Regions from separate parts of the Homo sapiens genome. Here region 2 is linked to region 1. The links are contacts of gene promoters, found by promoter capture Hi-C in blood cells and fetal thymus (Javierre and others, 2016). All regions are on one chromosome and are shown on one strand. The core of a region is centred on a gene start or on the middle of the fragment in contact, and the rest is flanking DNA. Distances in the headings are between cores, read along the strand shown. Region 1 holds the start of SLC22A12 (solute carrier family 22 member 12). Region 2 has its middle 40 kb from the start of SLC22A11.

Region 1 (7,520 bases), core at 4,265-6,764:
ATTACAGGCATGTGCCACCATGCCTGGCTAATTTTTTGTATTTTTAGTAGAGACAGGGTTTCACCATGTTGGCCAGGCTGGTCTCGAACTTCTGACCTCAGGTGATTCACCTGCCTCAGCCTCCCAAAGTGCTGGGATTACAGGCGTGAGCCACCGCGCCCGGCCAAGGATGTGACATTGCTGATTGACTCTGTCAGATACTTTTCACTCTGGCTTCCGGGGCATCCTGCTGTCCTGGTTTCCAGGCCTCACTGGTTTTGCCTTCACAGCTCTTTTGCTGGGTCATCCTCTTACTGACCTCTCAACATCAGAGACCAAAGGCTCCATCACAAACGTCATCTCTTTGCTATGAAAGCTTGCACCCTACGTGAGCTTATCCAGTCCTGTGACTTAAAATGCCTTTTATCCCCTAATTATTCCCAAGTCGCTCCATGATGCCACCACCTGGATGGCTAATAGACATGTCAATATCATCACACAAAAAAAGATTTATTTTCCCATCAAACTTGCTTCTCCCCGAGTGTTCTGCTTCTCTGTAAATGGCCCACCATCCACCCACCACCCACCTGATCATCAGTTTATCCTTTTTCTTCACCCTCGGCCCTGTATTTAGTCAAAGAAAAGCAATATGCCCCAAACCCAAGCATTTCTCTCCACCTGCCCTAATCCCCTAGCCCTGACCCTCATTGCTCACATGATCCACCCCAACAGCCTCCTGGGGGAACCCCTTCTTCTATATTTGTCCCATTTTCAGTCTGTTCTCCACACAGCAGCCAGGGAGATTTGTAAAAACATTAGTCAGATCATGCCACTTCTCTCCTCAAAACCCTATAAGGAAGTGTATGTTTTGGCCCCAAAACTGCTCTACTTTTCCCACTCACTTCTCCCCAACCATACTGGCCTCCTTCCTACTTCTTGAGCATAAAATCACATGCCCACCCCAGGGTCTTTGCATAATACTCTTCCCTCTGCCTGCAATATTCTTTCCCCAGTCAACTGTGTGTCTTGTCCCCTCATCTACTTGGGTCTCTTTCAATGCCACCTCCACAGAGAAGTCTTCCCTGACTGCCCCACCCAAAGTGGCAACATGATCCTTACTCTCTGCCCCTTATGCTATCTTGTTCTCTCCACAGCATGATTACTACTTGTCACTATATTCATTTATTTCTTGATGTGTTTCTCCTCTCTCATTGGCATGTCTTTCTACATATCAATGAGAACAGGGAATTATCTTGTTTGTTCACCGCTGCATCCCTGTGCCTAGAGCAGTGGCTGGTGCATTATCAACACTCAGCTCAACAAATGAATATTGATATTAAGAAGAAAGACACTCTTCTTTTTTTTTTTTTTTTTTTTTTGAGACAGAATCTTGCTCTGTCACCCAGGCTGGAGTGCAGTGGCGTGATCTTGGCTCCACTGCAACCTCCGCCTCATGGATTCAAGCAATTCTCCTGCCTCAGCAACCCTGGTAGCTGGGATTACAGGTGTGTGCCACCACCTCTGGCTAATTTTTGTATTTTTACTAGAGGCAGGGTTTCCCCATGTTGGCCAGGCTGGTCTCAAACTCCTGACCTCAAGTGATCCACTCGCCTCGGCCTCCCAAAGTGCTGGGATTCCGGCCGTGAGCCACCACGCCTGGCCCAAGAGAAACACTCGTAATATCCACTAAGAGATCAAGGAAATTATTCCACCTATGAAACAAGAAGTGGAAACTAGGAAACAAGAAGAAGCAGTTATAGGAAGAACCAAACACGGATTCTGAAATGGAAATTACACATTCTGAAATTAAAATGCTGGTGATTTGGGGCTGGGTGCAGTGGCTCATGCCTATAATCCCAGTACTTTGGGAGGCCGAGGTGGGCAGATCAGTTGAGGCCAGGAGTTCGAGACCAGCCTGGCCAACATGGTGAAACCCCATCGATATTAAAAATACAAAAATTAGCTGGGCATGGTGGCACATGCCTATAGACCCAGCTACTTAGGAGGCTGAGGCATGAGAATTGCTTGAACCTGGGCAGTGGAGACTGCAATGGGCCAAGATGGCGCCACTGCACTCCAGCCTGGGCAACAGAGCAAGACTCTGACTCAACTTAAAAAAAAAAAAGTGGAGAAAGCTGCATGAGAAGCATTTTTTTGGGAGAGCTCAGCTTTGGCCACACTAAGTGTGAGATGTTTATTAAGCACCTAAGATTAGGCAGTTGGATCAAAATCTAGCATTCCAAGAAGAGGTACAGGCTAAAGATGTGAATGGACCAGATGATAGAGAATATAGAGAAGACCAAGGAGTGAGCTCAGTGGCCTCCAATGTTAACAGTGTGTGGAGAAGAGGAAAACCCAACCAAGAAGATTGAGAACTAGTGAGTCCTGGAGGCCCAGGGAAGAAAGTATTCTCAGATGGAGATCAGAGACAGATGGCTCAAGTAAGATGAGGACTGAAAATGTCATTGAATCTAGCAGCATGGAGGTCATTGGTGACAGCAGAGTGATAGGGGCAAAACCTTGATGGGAATGAATCCAAAAACAAACAAAAAAATGGGAAGACAGAAACTGGAAATGAGTGTCAATAATACTTTCATAGAATTTTGTTGTAAATACAAGCAAAGGTGGGGCAGTCGCTTAAGAAGAAAGAGGGGCTCAAATGGAGGGGGAGTTTTTGGAAGGCTACAGAAAAAAATGGCATATTTGTACATTGGTGGAAATTATCCAGTAGCGAGGGAAAGACAAATGCCAAAGAGAGATGTGAGCAGGCAAAGGGGGGTGGGCTCTAGGCACACAGTGAGGGGTTGGCATGGATGAGAGAGAAACCAAACTGGGTGGAAGGAAGGCAGAATGTGGGGGCACCAAGGCAGGTGAGCTGGTGAGAGAATTAGACTGTTGGCTTCTGATGGCTTCTATTGTTTTAGTGAAATAAGAAAAAAGGTCATCTATTGAGAGAGAGGATAGAAGAGAAGGTGGTAGGTTTGAAGAGAGAAGATGGTATCAAATAACCCCTGGTTTGTGTGTTCAAATATAAGGGTAACAGAAATAAAACGTACAACTGACAGACCAAGACAGTAGAAGAATATAACAAGAAAACTTAATGGATTCAGTAGAAATTAGGAACAAGGAAACCAAGATTTAAAGGGAAAATGTGGTAAACAAGAAAACATACAGTAAGTCCAAACATGTCAATAATTACAATAAATGTGAACAGGTTAAAATCGCTAATTAAAAGGCAGAGGTATTTCTTTTGGATTTTACAAAAGGAAATGTAAAGCTTATTTGGCAGCTCAAGCTGATGAAGCTAAACATATCAGTTACTAAAACAAAGTCTGCACATATTTACACCAAACTGTAAACAGTAGTGTAACTCACTGGTTGATGAGTATATGAGGGATCTTTATTTTCATTTCAATATGTTCTGAATTTTTGAGGAAGTGTGTAAATTATTTCATAATTAGAAAATAAATGAAATTTTTAAAAAAATCATCCATGCACTTCAGCAAGTCTCCATGGAACCTTTATTTGTTGTCCAAATCAGTTCCAAAGAGCCTCTAAAGAAGGGTTCCAGACTACCAGGAGCTCACTGGAAATAAGACCAACTGGACCATAATAGAAGAATGCAGGTCATGGCTGGGTGCCGCAACTCACACCACTTTGGGAGGCCAAGGCAGGCAGATCACCTGAGGTCAGGAGTTTGAGAAGAATGCAGGACAGTGTAAAGATGAGATTCCACTGACAACTCTGAGCCCTAGTTGTAGGCAGGAATAAGTGAAGAGAGCCCGCTGGAGGAGGAGTATTTGGACTGTGCCCATTCCACACAGTATGTGGCCTAAGGGTGAGCCTGGAGACAGCATTCCAGGCTGGAGGTCCAACATAAGCAAGGGTGGGAACTGAGAAAGCATGTACAGGGCATGTGGTGGAAGCAGTGGATGACTCAAGGTGCAGAGCCCAGGGAGGCAAAGAAGTTGGCTTGGTAAGCCATGTGGAGGGGCAGCGGGAAGAGTCGGTGAAGCAAAAAGAAGCAGATGGGAGGGGCATTTATGCCTCAAATGGAGAGTTTTATGCCCAAAGCTCATAAGAGCAAACACCTGGGTTGCCATCACTGCTGCACTGCACATATACGCATGCACACATGTACACACATGCACTTGTGCAAACACATGTGCACACATACACAGACATGTGCACACACCCACATATACATACACTTCTTTTTTTTCTTTTCTTTTTTTTTTTTTTTTTGAGATAAGAGTCTTTCTCTGTCAACCAGGCTGGAGGGCAGTGGTGCAATCTCAGCTTGCTGCAACCTCTGCCTCCTGGGTTCAAGAGATTCTCCTGCCTCAGCCTCCCAAGTAGCTGGAATTACAGCTGTGCACCACGACCATGCTCAGCTAACTTTTGTATTTTTAGTAGAGATGGGTTTTTGCCATGTTGGCCAAGCTGGTCTTGAACTCTTGACCTCAAGTGATCCCCCCACCTCGGCCTCCCAAAGTGCTGGGATTACAGGCATGAGCCACCACGCCCGGCCATGCACACACACTTTTTAACTGCTTTGTGTTCTCTGGCCCTTTCGCCTACAGAATTAGCTATCGAGACCAAGGGGGTTCTCTTGGCCTCGGTCCAGCCTTTCCTGAACCCCACACCCTGCATCAGCACACACTGCTGTCCACTCACCTGCCCTAGTAAGTCACCACTAGCTGTTGTTGACTGGGAGCCCCTTGGCTTTTAAGCAGGATTTGACCCAAGGGCTCGCAGTGCGTGGTGGGTCCAGGGGCAGGAGTTGAGGCAGAAAGACAAGGGCAGGGACAGCTGTGGAGTGGGGGAGGTGGGAGAGAGAAATCCTTAGGAGGCAAAACTAGCCAGGCTTGGCCCCTGGTGGATTTGGGAGGCAGGGAGCAGGAGGCGTGAACCAAGACGCTGGGTTCCAGGCCAGACACTGTGACATGAGAGGCCATAGCTGAGGTGGGGCTCTGCAGGAGGCATAGATTTGGGGAGGGGACAGAGATCTCAGGGTGGCATTGGGCACACCGAACCTGGGGAGTCTGTGGGGTGTCTGTTGATGCTGGGAAGCTCCACCGAGGACTCAGGACAGGGTAACAGCAAAGCGGGCACAGGACGCCAACCACAGCAGGTGAGTGGAGGCAGGAGCCACGGGTGGGGCCAGGCCACACAGCCTGGGAGGCGCAGGGGCTGGGCAGCTGCCAGTGACCCAAGCCCACACAGAGACTTGCACAGCTGCCCCAGCCCCAAATTAGGGGGATCCCCTGGCCCACCTTCTCTTGGCTCAGCCACTCTGGGAGGTGGGCACACAGGGGCACCGAAGGGAGCAGGCAGCCCTGGCATCCCACAGCCGCCAGGAGAAAAACTTAGGCCTCCCCAAGACCTGGCACAGAGCAGGCCGGCCCTGGCCCCCAAGCAGAGGAGGCTGCACCTCCCTCGCGTCTGTGCCTGCCTCAACGCGGGTTAAACTTTGACCAAGGAAATGATTGCTAAACTCGATTCCATAAGTGTCACCGGTCACACTTTAATTCCAGTCTAAAATTAAAGTCTTCAGTCTCCACATTCCCTACTTTCCAAATTCAGCTTTCCCGGGAGGTCTGGAGCAGCTGCCTCTCTGGGGAGATGCTGGAGGTCTCGGAATCACCTCACGCGGCCTCAGGGCCCAGTTGGAGCCACCCCAAGTGACACCAGCAGGCAGATGACCAGAGAGCCTGAGCCTCCGGCCCCGAGTCTGTGAAGCCTAGCCGCTGGGCTGGAGAAGCCACTGTGGGCACCACCGTGGGGGAAACAGGCCCGTTGCCCTGGCCTCTTTGCCCTGGGCCAGCCTTTGTGAAGTGGGCCCCTCTTCTGGGCCCCTTGAGTAGGTTCCATGGCATTTTCTGAACTCCTGGACCTCGTGGGTGGCCTGGGCAGGTTCCAGGTTCTCCAGACGATGGCTCTGATGGTCTCCATCATGTGGCTGTGTACCCAGAGCATGCTGGAGAACTTCTCGGCCGCCGTGCCCAGCCACCGCTGCTGGGCACCCCTCCTGGACAACAGCACGGCTCAGGCCAGCATCCTAGGGAGCTTGAGTCCTGAGGCCCTCCTGGCTATTTCCATCCCGCCGGGCCCCAACCAGAGGCCCCACCAGTGCCGCCGCTTCCGCCAGCCACAGTGGCAGCTCTTGGACCCCAATGCCACGGCCACCAGCTGGAGCGAGGCCGACACGGAGCCGTGTGTGGATGGCTGGGTCTATGACCGCAGCATCTTCACCTCCACAATCGTGGCCAAGGTAGGGCCTCCCCCAGAGCCACTCGAGTCCCACCACCTTGGAGGTCAGTCATGGATCACGGTGGGTCAGACTCAAAGGTCCAGTCCTGGGAGGGACCCACCTCCCCAGGCCCCACTCACTCTCGAGCCTCTCAGCCCCTCGTCAGCCACACACAGGGAAGTGGGCGGCAGGGATCAGTCTACAAATGGGGCCAGCCCAGGCTCTTGGAGGTGCGGGGGGCACCTGGGCGGGCACCTCTAAATGCTGGCACCTGGACACTCACCGGCCTCACCCTGTCCTGGCCCTGCTGACCTGTCAGCCGTGACTCCAGGCAACTCAGCAGCAGGGGGACTCAGTGACAATTCACTGGATTCCCCGAGACCAAAGCACACAGAGTAAGGGATTACCCCAGGCTGCCTCCCAGATGGGGCGCCAGGCAAAGCCAGGCAAGCAGAGAGGGGCAGCTCATCCCAACAAGTGGGAAGAACCTCTTTATAAAGAACAGGAGGGAAGCAACCTCTGGGAGAGGGGTGAGGGTGTCAGCTTGGGTGGCTGCTTCCAAGTGGAGAGACAGGAGAGAGGGGCAGATGTGGCTAGAGACCCATTGGGCAATAGGGAGCCATGGAAGAGTTCAGGCAGAGGGTGGCAGGATATACTCCTCAAAAGGCCAAACTATGCCTGTGGGTGCCCTCACTGTTCCACAGGGTCTTGCTCTAAAACCCTAGAGGTCACCAGACCACCCACCGCACCCAGCTCCCTGGGGGCCCTCCCATGCGGTTCCTCTGCCTCTCTGCTGGGGCTCTCCCAACCTCCTGAGCTCAGCCTCCTCCTCTCCCATCAGTGGAACCTCGTGTGTGACTCTCATGCTCTGAAGCCCATGGCCCAGTCCATCTACCTGGCTGGGATTCTGGTGGGAGCTGCTGCGTGCGGCCCTGCCTCAGACAGGTGAGTACCCCCAGTCCAGGCAGGTCCCAGTTCCCCTCACAACCCCTGCTCTCCTAGGACCCTGGCCGACTGGCCCCAAACCAGCCTCACAAAACCAAGTCTAGAAAGCGCCCTACTTGCTGGGTGTGGGTCTCGGACCAGCCACCCTGCAGCCGTGCCAGGTAGGGAGGTCTGGAACCTTCTCTGAACCTCGAGTTCACCAACTTTACTCTGGGGGTTGTAGAGGATTTCTGCTCCCCAGCAAACATTCACTGCTAAAACTGGCTTGGCCATGCGCCTTCCTTCAGCAGCAACCTGAGTGCTCCTGGTGACTGGAGCCCATTCCCTTTGGCTCTGGCCTCGG
Region 2 (7,520 bases), core at 2,385-4,884, 76 kb before region 1:
AGGGCTCAGGCTATGCCATTAAGCCCTAGGTGCCTGGAAGGTTTTGCAAGAATAGCTCTTTCAGGTTGTTACTCACGGTCTTTCTAGGACCCGGATGTGGCCAGGCTAGGCAGGGGCCTGGGCTGAGCACAGAGGCTGATGTCGGTTATGGTCTCGGGGTCCTGCTCCCTGCAGTGCAACCTGCACTTGTTAATGCATCAGCCTCTCCTGCCCGCTCCTGCCCCCTGTTCCTCCAGGAAACAGGGTTCTAGGCCTGCCCCATCATTTGCTAGAAACTCGCATCCCAGCTTGAGCTCACACTGTACTCGGAATACACAGTTTCCTCACAGCCAGAAATGCACATCAACCCATTGGCCATATTCCTAAATGTGCAGCAACTCAGACCCTTCCATGGAGCATCTGGTACCACTTGCTATGGGGTGCCACTGAGCACAGGAGGAGTGAGAGACACCTTCAAAGATCAGGAGAAGGTGGGGACAGAACTGAAGTCTCCAGACTTCTTCTGGCTTCAGTTCTCCAACCAGGAAATGAGCGGGTTGTACCTGTTGACCTCCAAGGACACTTTAAGCTCTTTAAACCATTAGGAGAAAGAATTAAACATTATTGGCTGGGTGTGGTGGCTCACGCCTGGAATCCCAGTGGTTTGGGAGGTCAAGGGAGGATCACTTGAGGCCAAGAGTTTGAGACCAGCCTGGGTAACATAGTGAGACACCATGTCTACAAAAAATTAAAAAATTGGCTGGGTATGGTGACACAAACCTGTAGTCCCAGCTATTCAGGAGGCTGAGGCAGGAGGATCATTTGAGCAAAAGAGTTTGAGGCTGCAGTGAGCTACGATCACGGCACTGCACTCTAGCCCGGGCGACAGAGTGAGACCCTGTCTTAAAACAAACAAACAAACAAAAACCCACCTGAGCCACCTCTCTTTCAGTGACCTCATTTGGAACATCCATCCATTTTCAGCCTATTTTCTTCGCAAATAGGAACATTATGGTTACGAATTTCCCTACAAGTATTGCTTTGGTGGCATCCCACAAGTTTTGGTGGGTAGTATTTTCACCACCATTCAGTTCTGAGTATTAGAGATTTCCACTATGATTTCTCAATGGACTCATGAATGACTTAGAGGCATAGTGTTAATTTGTTTTTTGATGAAAGGGTAGGTAATACATTCAAAAGTTTCAATATTCAAAACGCATAAAAAGTCTACAAGGAAAACTATTTTTTCTACTCCTGTCCCCCAGCCAGCCACCCATAGGCAATTACTATTATTCATTAGCTGAGAGTCCATCCAGGTAAAGTTTATGCACACAAAGTAAAATGTGTATATATGAATATAGAAATATATATTATGTATGTGTGTAAATATGCATATATTGCTTTTCCTAGACAAACCTTACTCCTTCAGCTCTGAAGTGTGTTTTAGCTTGTCCTTAGAAAAATGTCTTAGAGATCATTTGGCATCAGTATGTGAAGAGCTTCCTCATTTGTTTTTACAAATGCATTGTATTCCATTGAATTTGATGAACCATAATCTAAATGTCAGGTTCTCTATTGATATATATTTATGTTGTTTATAGTTCTTTGAAATTTATAAACAACATTGCAATAAAAACCCTTTCTTTTACCCATTATTTCATAGGCAGCAAGCAGGTCGGTAGAAGTGGAGTTGCTAAATCAAAGCATATGTGCATATCAATTTTGACAGCTGTTGCCAAATGCTTTCCATTGAGGCTGTGCCGTATCTACCTAGAGCAGCGTAGAGTGAGAGGTCCTATTTACCTCCTGGCTTTTCCAACAGAACGTCCTATCAAATCTTGGTTCTTTGTTGATCTATTAGTGAATAACAGTATCATTCTAGCTTTATTGATATTTCTGTTATTGTAAGTGAGGTTGAGCATATTTTCATGTTTTAAATTAATTTATACAGATCTTGGTTTTGAAATGCCATTCTCCAGTGAAAGGAACTGGGGATCCTTGGAGAAATGGCTGATTCTAGGTCTGGGGCAGGGAATATACAAGATCAGCCTGGAGCATCTTTCAGTGTTGGAAGCAAGGAAGCACTCAAAACACAACAAAACCAGAACAACCCACAGTGACGGGGTTATGTCAAAGGCTCATGGGAACCAACTGCAAAGGCTCCCAGCAGCCTAAGAACCACTTGAGCAGCAAAATAAATAATGTAGTGCTGGACCATAGCCCAACGTATTAAATAAATATACATCAGTCCACGTATAAATAAATATACATCAGTCCACATATAAATGAATATACATCAGCCTGCATATAAATAAATATACATCAGTTCACACATAAATAAATATACGTCAGTCCACATATAATATACATCAGTCCACATATAAATAAATATACATCAGTCCGCATATAAATAAATATACATCAGTCCACATATAAATAAATATACATCAGTCCACATATAAATAAATATACATCAGTCCACATATAAATAAATATCCATCAGCTCACATATAAATAAATATACATAAGTCCACATATAAATACATATACGTCAGTCCACATATAAATAAATGATTGAATAAATAAATAAATGGGGGGAGAAGGGACAAATCTTCCTTATAGAAGAATCCCAAAAATATATGTAGATATCCACCCCGTAGATGGTGAAGTTTAATTCCCCTCCCCTTGAGTGTGGGCTGGATTTAGTGATTGGCTTCCTAAGAATAGAAGATGGGAAGCAACAACAGTAGCTTTACCGTGGAGGAAACTGCAGACACCATCCAAACCACGTGATGATGGTCAACATCACCAATGATGCCACGTGAGTACCACACACACCCCCTGCTGTGATGTGATGAAGGGAGTCCTTAAACTCATATCCCCTCTCTAGTCATGAAAAAAGTCAGACAATCCTAAACTGAGGGACATTCTATGAGATACCCGACCACTACTCTTCAAAACTGTCGAGGTTATGATAAACAAAGACAGATGGAGATACTGTCACCAACCAGGGGACACCAAAGAGACACATACATGTGAGTGGCACTCTAGATATGAGCCTGGGACAGAGAAGGGAATTATTGAGAAAAATTAGTAGAATATGAACAAAGCTTATAATTTGGTTAATAGTAATGAATGTGCTAATGCTAATACCTTAATTTTGACAAATACACCACAGTTATTATGTAAGATGTTAGCATTAGGGGAACTGAAAGAAAGGTGTACAGAAAATCTTTGTATTATCATTGTAATTTTTCTGTAAATCTAAAATTATTCCAAAATATAAAAGGTTATTTTTAAAAAGTTATTTGTATTTTTTAAATGAATAGTTTACTCATCCCCTTTGACATTTTTTCTTTTGGTGATTAGCCTCTTTCTTGTTTATTTATAGAAGTTCTTTACATATTAGTCTTTGATTAATTATACTTATTTTCTCCAATTTGACTATTTTTTGATTTTACTTAAAGTCATCTTTTCCCATTCAGATTTTTTTTTTTTTTTATACAGGATCTCTGTCACCCAGGCTGGAGTGCTGTGGCACAATCATGGCTCACTGCAGTCTTGACTTCTTGGGCTCAGGTGATCCTCCTACCTCAGTCTCCTGAATAACTGGGACCACAGGTGCACATCACAATGCCCAGCTAATTTAGAAAACATTATTTGTAGAGACAGGTGTCATTATGTTGCCCAGGCTGGTCTCAAACTCCTCAGCTCAAGTAATCCTCCCACCTCAGCCTCCCAAAGTACTGGGTGTAAGCCACTGCACCCAGCCCAGAAATGTTTTAATTTATATAGTCAAATTTCTTCATTTTTTATTTCTTTTGTGCCTCTTAACTTTGTGTTATAGTTGGTAAGGGCTTCTCCCATTTCAATCTTATAAAATAATTATGCTATGTTCACTCAGTGCTTTTATTTTAAGAAGTACTGTTTTTATTTTTCCAGTATTGTATTCTTCCAGGTTTTAGAAATTTATTAATTTCTGAAGCTGCATCAGTTAGCACACAGTCAAGAGACAGGAACCACCCCAGTTATCTGAACAGAGAGGATTTAATATAAATAATTGTTAACTAGATAAACAGTTGTTAACTAGGTAAATAAAATGGTAAAAAAGAGAAATGTAGCCTATCAAGGGATTAGCAACCACAGGCAGCAGCTGCCACCCCCAGGGCTGAGGGAGCAAAGGGAAGAAGCTGGAATTATTAAAGCTTAGTAATTAAAGGAGAGGCCCCCTGGGCTTGGGACCCAGACTTCTGAGGAGAAACTCTGGTGGGTGCTGGTGTATCTGTGGGATAGAGAGGGGACAAGACGAAATTGGTTTGCAAATGTCTAAAAAACTGCAAGCTGGATTTCACAGCTGCAGGAACTGCTGCAGCCAGGGTGAAGCAGCTCTGCTGGGAGGATGCTCATCAGAACAGGAAGCCAACTGGAAGGAGCAGGTCCCTTCTTCCAGCCCAGCTTGTTAGTCTCTCTCTAGTGCCCCCTATTGGCAGACCCTAACAGGGATGTGACTGTCAAAGCAGAAATGTTTGCAGAGTTCCATCACCAGTATCACAAAACCGAATACAGAAGGCTGGTTTGGAAATGAGACAATAGTTTAATAACGGACCCACTTGCTTATGAAAAACAATTCAATGACGTTTGAACACTTCAGTTCACCTTATTCCATCTTATATTTCATTGGCGAATTACAGTGACTACAAAAAGTTGCCTTAGCTTTAGTTTGTTTTTTTAATCTTTCAAAATAAGTAATATATTACTATTTTATACAGTCTATACATCTTGTTAAGAATTATCCACATCACACCCGTTCATTTGCCCATAATTTCTTCTTCTTTTTTCCTCTATAAACTTCTCCATTCTCCTATTAGTGCTTCCTAAGACTACGAAAACAATCAAGTTGTACACAAATACTTGTGTCAGGGTCAGCTTCTAGGATAGCTAAAATTAAAACAGAGCCCAAAGGCTCCTGTATCAGAATTAATGAATGTAACATTTTAAACAGACTATATTTATACTGTTAAAAGAAATAAAAGATGGATTGAAAACATGAGTAAGATATAAGAGACTTCAAACATAACTAGGCACATTTTTTAAAAAGCTAATAGAATTCCTAGAACTGAAAGTATTATTATTGATATTAAAGACTCAATGTATAGACTGCAGAACATACTGAACACAGTTGAAGAGAGAATTGGTGAAATGGAATGTAGACACTATACAGTAAAAGTCCAAAGAGGAAAGTAAAGGAAGTCCATGGATGCATTACCAAGCAAGTGTCAATGTGAGCCACAGAAATGCAAAGCAGAGGAACTCTGGAGACAGTGCAGAACATGCATGGGGGCTATTCCAGTCTGGAGGTATTTATTTTCAAACTTCTTTTCATCATTGGCTGATGTTGCAAGGATGTTGCAGGGGAATTAATTTCCAGGCACTTCCAGTCTTCTCCCTGTGCATTGGGACAGAGCCTTTAGACAGACACTTGAAAAGGATGCCACCAGCATGCACTGGAACAGTGAGGGCTGAGGAGACTTGGGTGGGGCACCTAAGGGAACATCTGCCATCATTCACCCCTTGAACAGCTCAGATGCACTCATGCTGCAAGTAAAGTTGACTCTGCTCCATCCCTGCTTCTTCAAGGTTGTGGCCTATCACAATTTCTAAAAAATAACAGGCAGGTCAGGTGTGGTGGTTCATGCCTGTAGTGCCAGCACTTTGGAAGCCTGGGGCAGGAGGATCACTTGAGCCCAAGAACTCAAGACCAACCTGGGCAACATAGTGAGACCCCAGTCTCCACTAAATAAATAAAACAATTAGCTGGGCATGGTGGTGCACACCTGTAGTCCCAGCTACTTGGGAGGCTGAGGTGAGAGGATCACTTGAGCACAGTAGGTGGAGGCTGCAGTGAGCTGTGATTGTGCCACTGCATTCCTGCAGCCTGGGCGACAGAGTGAGACCCTTTCTCAAAAAAAGAAAAAATAATACAACCGGAATATTAGCAGGACGAAGTGCAGTCCCTGCCGCCTCAGTGGGTCCCAGGGCCATACCTGACATTCATTATCTCTTTCCTCTACCAACTATTCTGGATTCCCTGCACCCTGGGCCTGTACTTCTGCTGGTCTTGGTGGCTTGCCTGGTGGGGTGATGCAGACTTCATCCCTGAGGTGTCTGAGCCCCTGGTCACCACACCTGGCGAGGCCATGGCTGCTGCAGTTGCCCGTTCAGACTTATTACCATACCAAGCACCAGGAGGGGCTGCAGCGAATTCCTCAGTCTTCAGACAAAGTCCTTCCTGCTCCTATTACATGGCAGCATACAACCACCCTCACCAAATGCCACCTACTAACTGGAGTCCTTAACATGTCCCCATTGAAGCATTCCCCTTCCCCAGTGGGAAATAACACCCCTAGTCCAAGCAGAGCTTGAAGTCGTGGAGATGGGAAACAAATTCGCCAGGGAGTCCTGCGGATGATGGTGAGAGCTTCCGCCCCTACTTCCACCCCTACTTTCACCCCTTGGGTCCTCTCACTATAAGGGACACACACCATGGGGTGGCCATTGGTTCAGAGTATAGATCGCACCTTCCAACTCAGTGTCCCAGTGCCCTAGGGTGTCTTCCCCAAACTGGTTTCTTCCCCAAACATTCCACCCAGCCGGCAGATGCTTAGATGGAGACCCTAGTGGGTCCTCTTGTCCTGCCCATCATCACAACTATTTTGCTGTAATTTGATTCTCTCAGTTCAAGGCCATGTTATTTGCAATCCCATAATGGCAAATTAGACACCCCGTGAGTCCGCAGACTCACATGAGTCCAGAGTACTAGCTGGAGCCCTGCAGTCAGGCAAGGTAAAATCCTACCTGGAGTAGGGGTCAATTCTGGTCCAGAGGGCTTGCTGCTCCCTCCAGTGTAGGGGGATTAAATGCAACCAAGCTGCTGTCACATAGCGAGTTGGTCTCCTCCAGGGACAACACCATAATGAGGGCCTAGCGTTAGTCTCTGCTCCTGAACACGCAGGTGTTTAGCCGAAGCTGGATCAGCCTTTGTGAGCCGGACTCCAGGCACAGATGGAGTGAACCCATGCACGGTCTCCCAACCCACCACCGTGGCGACTCCTTGCACACACTCATTGTGCAAGTGCAGAGGTGGCTGTGGGCAGAGGCTGGTTGAGCTCTGCTGGCTGAGTCACCTTTTCTATCTGGTTCTTCAGTGCTTCATCTGCAGTTGATAATTTCAGGGGGCCAGCGGTGGTGTTGACGTAAGACAATGTGCTCACTCCCATTTGCTCATTCCCATCACTCTTTCCCAGGCCATTTTTTTCTGATCTTCCAATCTCGTTCCTTCCAAGTCTCTGACGAACCAGCCCAATCAGTTACCATTGCCCAGAGTCTGTGTACATCCTTACCTAAGTGGATAACCAGGTGCTTGCCTGAAGCTCTGCTGGCTGGATCGGCTTGGAGTGAGGCAGCATCCATTTTTTATTTGCTCCAATATATCAAGCCAATATATCAAGTTTTTTATTTGCTCCAATATATCAAGCCAATGA

The links. Contacts are between HindIII fragments. The CHiCAGO score rates a contact against its expected background, and 5 or more counts as called.
Region 2: a contact is called between a fragment that was not itself captured here and the fragment with the promoter of SLC22A12 in region 1, in 1 of 17 cell types (M1 macrophages). The highest score is 5.3, in M1 macrophages.

Annotation. Positions count from the first base shown.
Region 1 is chr11:64,585,706-64,593,225 of GRCh38, forward strand. It overlaps SLC22A12 (solute carrier family 22 member 12), which reads left to right and starts at 5,515. Exons shown (of 10, transcript NM_144585.4): 1 at 5,515-6,253; 2 at 7,074-7,177. The coding sequence starts at 5,852. The HindIII fragment of the contact is 38,603 bases long and covers 3,255-7,520 here.
Region 2 is chr11:64,512,010-64,519,529 of GRCh38, forward strand. No RefSeq gene overlaps it. Among named protein-coding and RNA genes, the nearest start is that of SLC22A11, 40 kb to the right of the region's middle. The HindIII fragment of the contact is 1,095 bases long and covers 3,088-4,182 here.